Linked DNA regions of Homo sapiens: all the other regions are linked to region 3. Evidence: promoter capture Hi-C in 16 types of primary human blood cells and fetal thymus (Javierre and others, 2016). All regions are on one chromosome and are shown on one strand. The core of a region is centred on a gene start or on the middle of the fragment in contact, and the rest is flanking DNA. Distances in the headings are between cores, read along the strand shown. Region 1 overlaps GAB2 (GRB2 associated binding protein 2). Region 2 overlaps USP35 (ubiquitin specific peptidase 35). Region 3 holds the start of NARS2 (asparaginyl-tRNA synthetase 2, mitochondrial).

Evidence for each region. Contacts are between HindIII fragments. The CHiCAGO score rates a contact against its expected background, and 5 or more counts as called.
Region 1: a fragment that was not itself captured here is called in contact with the fragment with the promoter of NARS2 in region 3 in 1 of 17 cell types (M1 macrophages); the score reaches 5.5 in M1 macrophages.
Region 2: a contact is called between a fragment that was not itself captured here and the fragment with the promoter of NARS2 in region 3, in 1 of 17 cell types (M0 macrophages). The highest score is 5.6, in M0 macrophages.

The regions. Positions count from the first base shown.
Region 1 is chr11:78,248,229-78,250,928 of GRCh38, forward strand. GAB2 (GRB2 associated binding protein 2) reads right to left here. Exons shown (of 10, transcript NM_080491.3): 3 at 1,929-2,172. Among named protein-coding and RNA genes, the nearest start is that of USP35, 61 kb to the left of the region's middle. The HindIII fragment of the contact is 3,578 bases long and covers 1-2,700 here.
Region 2 is chr11:78,199,098-78,201,982 of GRCh38, forward strand. It overlaps USP35 (ubiquitin specific peptidase 35), which reads left to right. Exons shown (of 11, transcript NM_020798.4): 4 at 498-627; 5 at 1,036-1,137; 6 at 1,553-1,711. Among named protein-coding and RNA genes, the nearest start is that of USP35, 12 kb to the left of the region's middle. The HindIII fragment of the contact is 2,768 bases long and covers 166-2,885 here.
Region 3 is chr11:78,573,481-78,576,278 of GRCh38, forward strand. NARS2 (asparaginyl-tRNA synthetase 2, mitochondrial) reads right to left here and starts at 1,384. Exons shown (of 14, transcript NM_024678.6): 1 at 868-1,384. The coding sequence starts at 1,008. RefSeq lists enhancers at 770-879, 1,540-1,679. The HindIII fragment of the contact is 10,208 bases long and covers 1-2,798 here.

The DNA of each region.
Region 1 (2,700 bases), core at 119-2,618, 330 kb before region 3:
AGGAGGTAGGGGTGCAGAGAGTGGGCCCTAAAGGCTAATTCAAGCAGAGATGTTTCTACGTTTGTTCTCTGATGCGTCAGCAGGATCACTGGAGTGGTGGTGGCGGCAATTGTTACTACTATATAAAGCCTTCTACTTAGTGTGAGCTGTAGACAATCTGTGCTGGTATCATCTGGAGTTTATTAGAAAGGACCCCAGGACCTAGGCCAGGCTTACTGAGTCAGAGTGAGCATTTCAGTAAGATCTTCAGGTATTTCATATGCATGTTAAAGTCTGCAAGGCACTACAGCTAAGTACTTTGCCTTTCACTACAACTATGATTTTAAGACCTCACCTTATCTGCTCCCAGGCAGTTGTCTATGTAGTAGAAGAGGATGGGGCATAGGAAGAACAGGTAAAATGTATTTACTCTCTACTACTATTTTATGTATGTTTTATCATTTTACACTCATTAGTAAGCCTTTGAATTAGTTATTCCCATTCTGAAGATAAGAATATTGAAGGTTAATTAGGTTAAATAATTGGCCCAAGATCACAAAGAAAGTAAAAGAACCTGAATTTGAACCCATATCCGACTGACTCCAAAGCCTGAACATGCTTTTCATTATACCACACTGCCTATCTCTGGTTAGTGATTCGGGAGAATCAGGTACTATTTACAGTTAACGCCACTAACTAGTTCAGTGACCTTGGCTAACTCACTCTATCTTTTTAGGACTCAGCTCTTCATGTATAAGTTGATGGAAGTTGAACTAGTGAAAGTTCACAAACAAATGAATCATGTTCTTCATGAAAATGGGTATCTGAGGCAGCCTTAAGATTAAGTGTTGGAGCCTCTTCTGTGTGACAGCAGATGACTCAGAAAAACAAAAGTAGGGTAGCATAGTGAAAAGAGTACAGGACCAGAAACAAGAAGACCTGGGTTCTAGCCCAACCTCTGCTATTTATTAGTCATGATTCTCAGTTCCTTCATCTTTAAAATGGAGATAAATTTTGTATACTGGCTATTTCTCAGTGTATTGATTGGTTCAAATGAGATTATGTATGAAAATATTCTCAAGGACAAAATCAAGTAATACATTAGTACAGCCATTTTTCTATTTGCCTTAATTGTCATAACATGAATTAGATCTTGTAAGTTAATTAAAATGTGATTTGTAATCTGCTGGCTATGGTAGCAACTGGGAATTAGCTCTGGCAAAGCCTATCAGCTCTGCACTTTTGCTTAGCCTAACAATGGGAATAAAACATAATAAATACATTTACAGGTTCTGCACCTGTGAAAGAGCTGATGATGTTAGAAAAACAAAAGACCATTATCCTAGAACAGGGAGTCCTTGCTCTAGAACTTCGTTATGATGGAAATTTTCTGTATCTGTGCTGTCTGGTACAGTAGCCCCTAGACATATGTGTCTACTGAGGACTTGAAATGTGGCTAGTACAACTAAGGAACTGAATTTTACATTTTATTTCATTTTAATTAATTTAAATTTATGTAGACATATGCAGGTAGTAGCTACTATACAGAACAGTGCAGTTCTAGAGCAAAAGCAAGGTATGGATTTGTTGAACTATGTTATGGTTTTATAGCTATACTTTTAAGCCCAAGTAAATTGACTGTTTTTTTTTGCAATTCGGAAACTGTGTCCCCTAATGCCTTCACCCCTGCCTCCAAATCAAACATTTTTTATAGCATGATTTTTGATAATGAAAAGTTTCTCTGGCACCCAGTTATCACTGTGTAGCAACACAGATGATGCCAATAAAATATGAAGGCTACAGAAGCAAAAAATTATGTTTTGTCATAGACGTGTTTGTCTACCTGAAACGATATAATGTTTTGCTTGTCTTTAAAAAAGCAAGGACTGAAAAGTACTAGGCCCTGTGAGCGGTCACTAACCCACCTAATGGCTGTGGCAGCCTCCTACCTTGCATTTTCTGCTCTTCGGCTTATGCACTGGTGCAAGTAGAGATACTCCTGAGGTGCGCTGGTGGACAAGGTGGGCTGCATGTGGTTTGACACAGGGGGTTCAAACGTGAACAGAGTTGGCTGGCTGGAGTGTGATGGGGCTGAGGACTTGCGCTCTCGGAGAAGGTGCTGGCTAGAGCTGCTGAGCTCAGCTGGAGAAGAGCGGGGGCCATGACCGGCTGAGGAAACATTTCTCAGGGAGTCTGAAAAGGAGAAATAGCTCTGTGAATGAAAAAGGAAGGAAATGTATCCTTATCCCAAAGTGAGTTGTCAGAGGAAGAAAAAAGAGTAAGAGCAGAGAAAATAATCCAGCACTAGCATTCTCTCCCTCTCATATACCTGCCCCTTGCTGCCCTCCTGGCCATCTTGGTTGAAGAAGAGGTCCTCTTTACCTTTGTATGGCTTCTGGGGTAGCCTGGAGGTGACTTCCTATCACAATGTAGGCCATATCTGCCCCACTTCCAGGAAGTACGGCTACCTGTGGTCTAGGAGTGTGACCCTGACCCTCAGGCAAGGTCTGCCTCTAGAGTAATGAGTACGACCACCTTCCCACTCTTTGGTGGCGCCTGCTGTGGTCAAAGGATGAAATCATGTCTTTTGCAGCAACATGAATGCAGCTGAACATCATTATCCCAAGTGAATTAATGCAGAAACAGAAAACCAAATACCCTAATGTTCTCACTTATAAGTTGGAGCTAAACACAGGGTGCACATGGACATAAAGACGGAAA
Region 2 (2,885 bases), core at 300-2,799, 370 kb before region 3:
CTCAATGGTGAATACGACCTAAGTGTTAGCTGCTGTTATCTCCTTTAATCCATACAAGAACCCTCTGAGGGAGGTATTATCCCCATTTTACAGAGGAAGAAACTGAGGCCCAGAGCGGGGAAGTGGCTTGCTCTGGGTCACACAGCAAGGACTTGCTGGAGCCAAAGCTTCTGGCCCAGGGGCAGTGCCCTTCCAGGCAGAAGCAGCTGAAAGCCTTGTTCTGGCATTGCAGCCCAGTGTGGAGGGGCGAGACTTGGGGTGCTGAGAGGGCCTGGCTCCCTTCTTGGTGGGCTGGGAGCCTCAGTGTCTGGCAGGTGGCTGTGCTGGGCTTGTGCATTTCCCAGCCATGTCTGGTTCAGCCCACAGACCCCGGGGCTGCCCTTTGCAGGTGTGAGTCAATGTGGGAACCCAGGACATTACGGATAGCCCCTGGGCTGCCCTCACCCCAGCATTTTGGGTGTCCCTTGTCCCTGTGTCACTGTCACTCCCCTCACCAGGATGATTGACTGGGTGTCCTGGCCCCTGGGGAAGAATATTGACAAGTGGATCATTGCACTGCTGAAGGGCCTGGCTGCTGTTAAGAAGTTCAGCATCTTGATCGAGGTTTCGCTCACCAAAATTGAGAAGGTTGGTGCCCCTGTCCTAGCCCAGAGTTACAGCCTTTTGTACTAGGCTCTTGCCAGGGGCGGTGCAGGTCTGGGAGGTCAGAGCATTGGGCCTACCCACCAAGCTCGCTGTGTGACCTGGGCGAATTCACTGCCCCTCTCTGGGCCTCAGATTCTCCCCATTAGTTTCCCTGACTACTCATCCAAGTATGTGTGTCTGACTTTTGGTGTGTCCATCCATTCCTCAGATATCTATGTTGCTGTCCATCTCACCATCTGTCTGTCCATCTGGGTCTGTGAGCACCTCAGTGTTGATCCCTCTGCATGGGTTTGAACTCTAGGGTGTCTCTGAGTCCCCTCTCAGGCTTGTGATTCTACTTGGCCTCAGCAGCTCAAGCCTGGGGACTCCTGACCAGGGACTCTCTTGTAGGTTTTCTCTAAGCTGCTGTACCCCATCGTCCGGGGAGCTGCCTTGTCTGTGCTCAAGTACATGCTCCTGACCTTCCAGCACTCCCACGAAGCCTTCCACCTGGTAAGGTCCCCTGCCTGCTGCCCCTGGTGAGGCCCCTGCCTGCTGCCCCTGGTAAGGGCCCTGCCTACTGCCCCTGGTAAGGGCCCTGCCTGCTGACCCTGGGCTCTTGGGGCAGGTCACTTGGCTGAGGCCAAGCAGCTGGATCGTGGGCTCTGGCCTCCCTTTGACTGTGAGGAGAGGAGTAGTCATCCTATTTTGCAGATGAAGAAACTGAGGCAGGGTGTCTTAGATCATATTGTTGGGAAAAGGAGTCACCTGCCTGCAGAGCTCAGAGCCCCATCTGGGTCAGGGGACAGTGGTCAGGTGGGCAAGCCTCCCTACCTCAGAGAGTGTTGCGTGCTGTCAGCAGGGACCACAGCCCCGTGTCTCAGGTGGGCGGGTTGGTGCTGAGCCTGACGCAGCTCTGCTCCCACAGCTCCTCCCTCACATCCCCCCCATGGTGGCCTCTCTGGTCAAGGAGGACTCGAACTCGGGGACCAGCTGCCTGGAGCAGCTGGCGGAGCTGGTCCACTGCATGGTGTTCCGGTTCCCGGGCTTCCCGGATCTGTATGAGCCTGTCATGGAGGCCATCAAGGTGAGCGACAGTCCCCTACTTGGGCCTTGCCCCACTCTGACAAAGGTACCAGTGTGGGCCTTCCAGCGGGCCATACCACAGCTTGGTGGCAGTCCCCGTCATTTGGTGCCTGGCTGTCTCCCATCACCTCCCCAGGTCCATCATGTGCCTCAAGCACACTGAGCCACTCACGTTCCCCAAGTAGGCTGGGCTGCCTCATGGCTGCTCTGGGCTTTTGCACACACTGTGCTTTCTAACCATAAACGCTTCTCTGTCAGTGTAGTATGGAAATTAAAACACGTTCTCTTTCTCTGCTCTGCCTGGACAGCTCCTGCTTACCTTGTAAGTCTCTGTTCTAGTGTTACTTCCCTCAGGATGCCTTTCCTGATCACTCTCAGTACTCCCATGCCCTCCACCAGGCTGGGCTAGGGCCTCGCTGGGCTCCCACAGTCTTGGTACATCCCTCTGTCACATGTTATCACTGTCTGTCTGCCTCCCTTGCCAGACTGTGAGCACTCCAGACCAGGGATAATTTACAGTCGTTCACATGACTTTACTGACGTCCTGCTCTGCACCAAGCCCAGGCTGGGAACTGGGGGCATGGGCATGAAGCAAACGGAGTCTCCTCCATTGAGAGGATCGCAGCCTGGTGAGGGTGACAGACTTGGATACGAGAAACTCTGGTCGGAGCAGCTTTTGAAAATGTCTACAAGGTTTGGCTTGAGAGCAGTGAGAAACCAGAGGAAGGAAAGATCTTCTCCAGTTAGAGAGGACAGATGAGGCCTCTAAGAAGAAAGAGTTTCTTAGAGGCCTCATCAAGCTGGGCTTGACGGGTTGCTAGGATCTGACAGTGACTAACATCTGTGGCTACTGCTACACTTGAGATTATTTTCCTGTATGTTTTGTCTTCTGATGCTCACAAGAAACCTACAAAGATGATACGGTTCATTTCAATCTCATAGATGAGGAAAAGGAGACTTGGAGAAGTTTGGTGACTTGTGCAAAGTCACAGAGGTAGTGAGACATGTAGCTGGAGTCTGGATGGCAGAGCCTTCCCCATTGCCTGATAGAGAAGGCAGGTTGGGTGGGGTGAAGGGGTCTAGGTAGGTGGCCCTTGCAGAACCTTTGATCTGACTTTTACATCTGCAGCACAGCAGACGAGATAACCTGAAAAGTGTCCTGCTACAAAACAGCT
Region 3 (2,798 bases), core at 134-2,633:
ATCTGAGATCACATCACTGCGCTCCAGTCTGGGTGACAGAGCTAGACCCTGTCTCAAAAAATAAATAACCACATCAGTGTACTTCAGCAACCTAATAAGAAACAGTCAAACACCTTGTTTATTCTGCACCTCTTCTATGTGGAGCTGCTGCAAATAATATAATCAGCAAGAGAAACAATAGCAGCTAACATTTGTAGACTATGAGCCACTGTTCTAAATATCTTACTTCCATTACCTCATTTAATTTTCAGGACTCAGGGACAATTATTATCTCTTTCCATAAGAGGAAAATAAGGTGTAGAACGCATAAACGCTATGCAGAGATTTAAACCTAAGCAGCTTAACTCCAGAGCTCTTTCAAACTGCTACATTCCAGTCTTTCTCCGAATTCATTAAAAATAAATTACATGCAGACCCCCACAATAGGCACTGAGGTCGCTAAAAGTTTAAAAGGCATGGTTTGAACAAGTATTTGCTGTCAGCCATGTGTGAATACAAAGGCAGGTAAGACACGGTTTCTGCTCTCAAGGAGGGAGGTCAAGACAACCACTTTATAAACCTGGATATTCATTATAAGGGATAAAGATAGAGAAAGGGGGCTTGTTCATTTACACTTTTGGTATGATTAACAAGTTTACAGGTAATACCCTGGAATCATGAAAGCAAAGTTCCAGCGCTTTACAGTTATCGGAACAGTTTTGTGAAAAGTAATGGAAATCAGAAAAGTGCAAACCCGCGACGCCTACACTTTCTAACTTTTCCCTGCTGGCGGTTGTGTCTGACCCGACTGTAAAAGAAAAGCTAGATGTGGATGTGCCATATAAAAGTCCCTACAAGAAAAAACCCACTCCCTTCCCATTCACCAACCTGGATCTTAATGCGCTCCCCACTCGCGTTCTGAGCCCCGAGAGCGTCCCGCACGCTCAGTTTGGCTGAAGGTTTGTGCTTGGGGAAGGGGGCGGAGGAACAGAAGCGCACGGACCGCAGCAGGCAGCGGACCCCCAGCATCCCGCGTCCGCCCAGGCCCTCCGCGGGAGCAGCCCAGACCCCACGGTTCGAACCCCGCCTGCAGCGGCCCTCCTTTCTCAGCTGCTCCCCTTCCGCGGCCGCAGCTCTGCTCTAAGGCACTCCAGAGCCCCTCGGCTGCGCGCTTTCTCCTTCAGGACTCCCAGCTCTGTCCCCACAGAACCTCTCCGCTTCCCACTTCCCAACGGGGCGGAATGGACAGGACACTAGGCAAACGCCAGAAAGAAACCACGTGCAGTTGGCAGCTGGGGCGCCCCACTACCCGCGACAATTGTAAACCTACGAACAGAACCCGGGCCGCAACACGCGCAACCACTCCTACCACACCACGCCAACGCCGCTTACGTCATCACGCTACGGGGAAGAAGGGAGAGCATGCGTACTTGTGACCCAGGCTTAGGGAGGCGTGCGGGAGGGGGCGGGGTCAGGAGCCGAGACGGGGCGGAGCTAATGCCCTAAGGTTGTAGAGATTATCGCTGAAAGAACGTGGGAGCACATCTGAGGGTCTTCATTTCTAAAGTTTCCAGGTGAGGCTGAGAAACTGAGAGGCAAGGAGTGACTGATGGAGAGGGAAACCGTCTCCATCAGTCAACAATAGGGATCCAAGTAAGAGGAGGCTCTTAGCTGTTAACAGGATTCGCTTGAAGAGATCAGTCGTTCCTTTCCTGAGTACTCCGCAGAGAAAAATCAGACATAGCCCCAATGCGCAAGTCACAGTTGTGTGGTATCAGACAGCTAAACAGACAGTTGCATAAAAGGGCGATCAGTTTGCCTGACAGAGCCTAAGCGTGGGACGCCAGAGATGGCTTCCTGGAGAAAGTAGTCCTCTGACAGGTAAATAAAAGGAACTGGAGGGACCTTGCATATGGCAGGCAAGACGGTGGGAAGATGTTGCAGAGACTGGAGGAAACTCGAGTGTTTCCTGCCAGAATCCTCCAAGTCTCCCTCTTCCCTCTGCCCTCCAACACAGCTATCTGCATTTGTTTGACCTGGAAACAATGACCCTTTTATATATTAGGCTACGTTTTATTAAAAAAAAAATTCTGTAACTCAATGACGGTCATTAAAAGGTTTTTAATCTAATTTAAAAAGTAAAACGTTTGGCCAAGTGCGGTGGCTCACGCCTGTAATCCCAACTCTTAGGGAGGCAGAAGCAGGAGGATTGCTTCAGCCCAGGAGTTCAAGACCAGCGCTCGCCCTCGCTGTCTCTCTCCCGCTCCCTCTCACTCTCACTCTCTCTCTCTCACTTTTACCTTACTTAAAGTTGCTACTATTATTATACCCATTTTACAAATGAGAGAACTTACGCACAGAAAGGCTAGATGACCTACTTAAGGATACACATTCCCTAAGTGTGAGATTTAAACCCAGAAGTGCTGGCTCTATGCACTTAAGCAGTATGCTGTATTACATAGTGTCCCAAGGTGATCTGTTCCATCAAGGAGCTCATGCTTTAGAGATGGAGACAAGCAAGAAAAGAGACTACTGAAATATAAACCAGTAAGTGCACACATAGATGTATGAGTTGTCTGCATTTGTTTGGACTGAAAAGTCACCCTTATATATTAGGCTACCTCTTAAATTTATCCAAAAAATTATTTTTGATATTTTATCCAAATATTATATTGGATAAAATATAATACAATTATAATATATACATGTATCACAATTTTATATTTTATATAATATAAATGTGTTCCCTGGTTCTTTTAATAAATTAAAATTATAAATATAATAAAATTATAATTATAAATTATAATATATAATTAAAT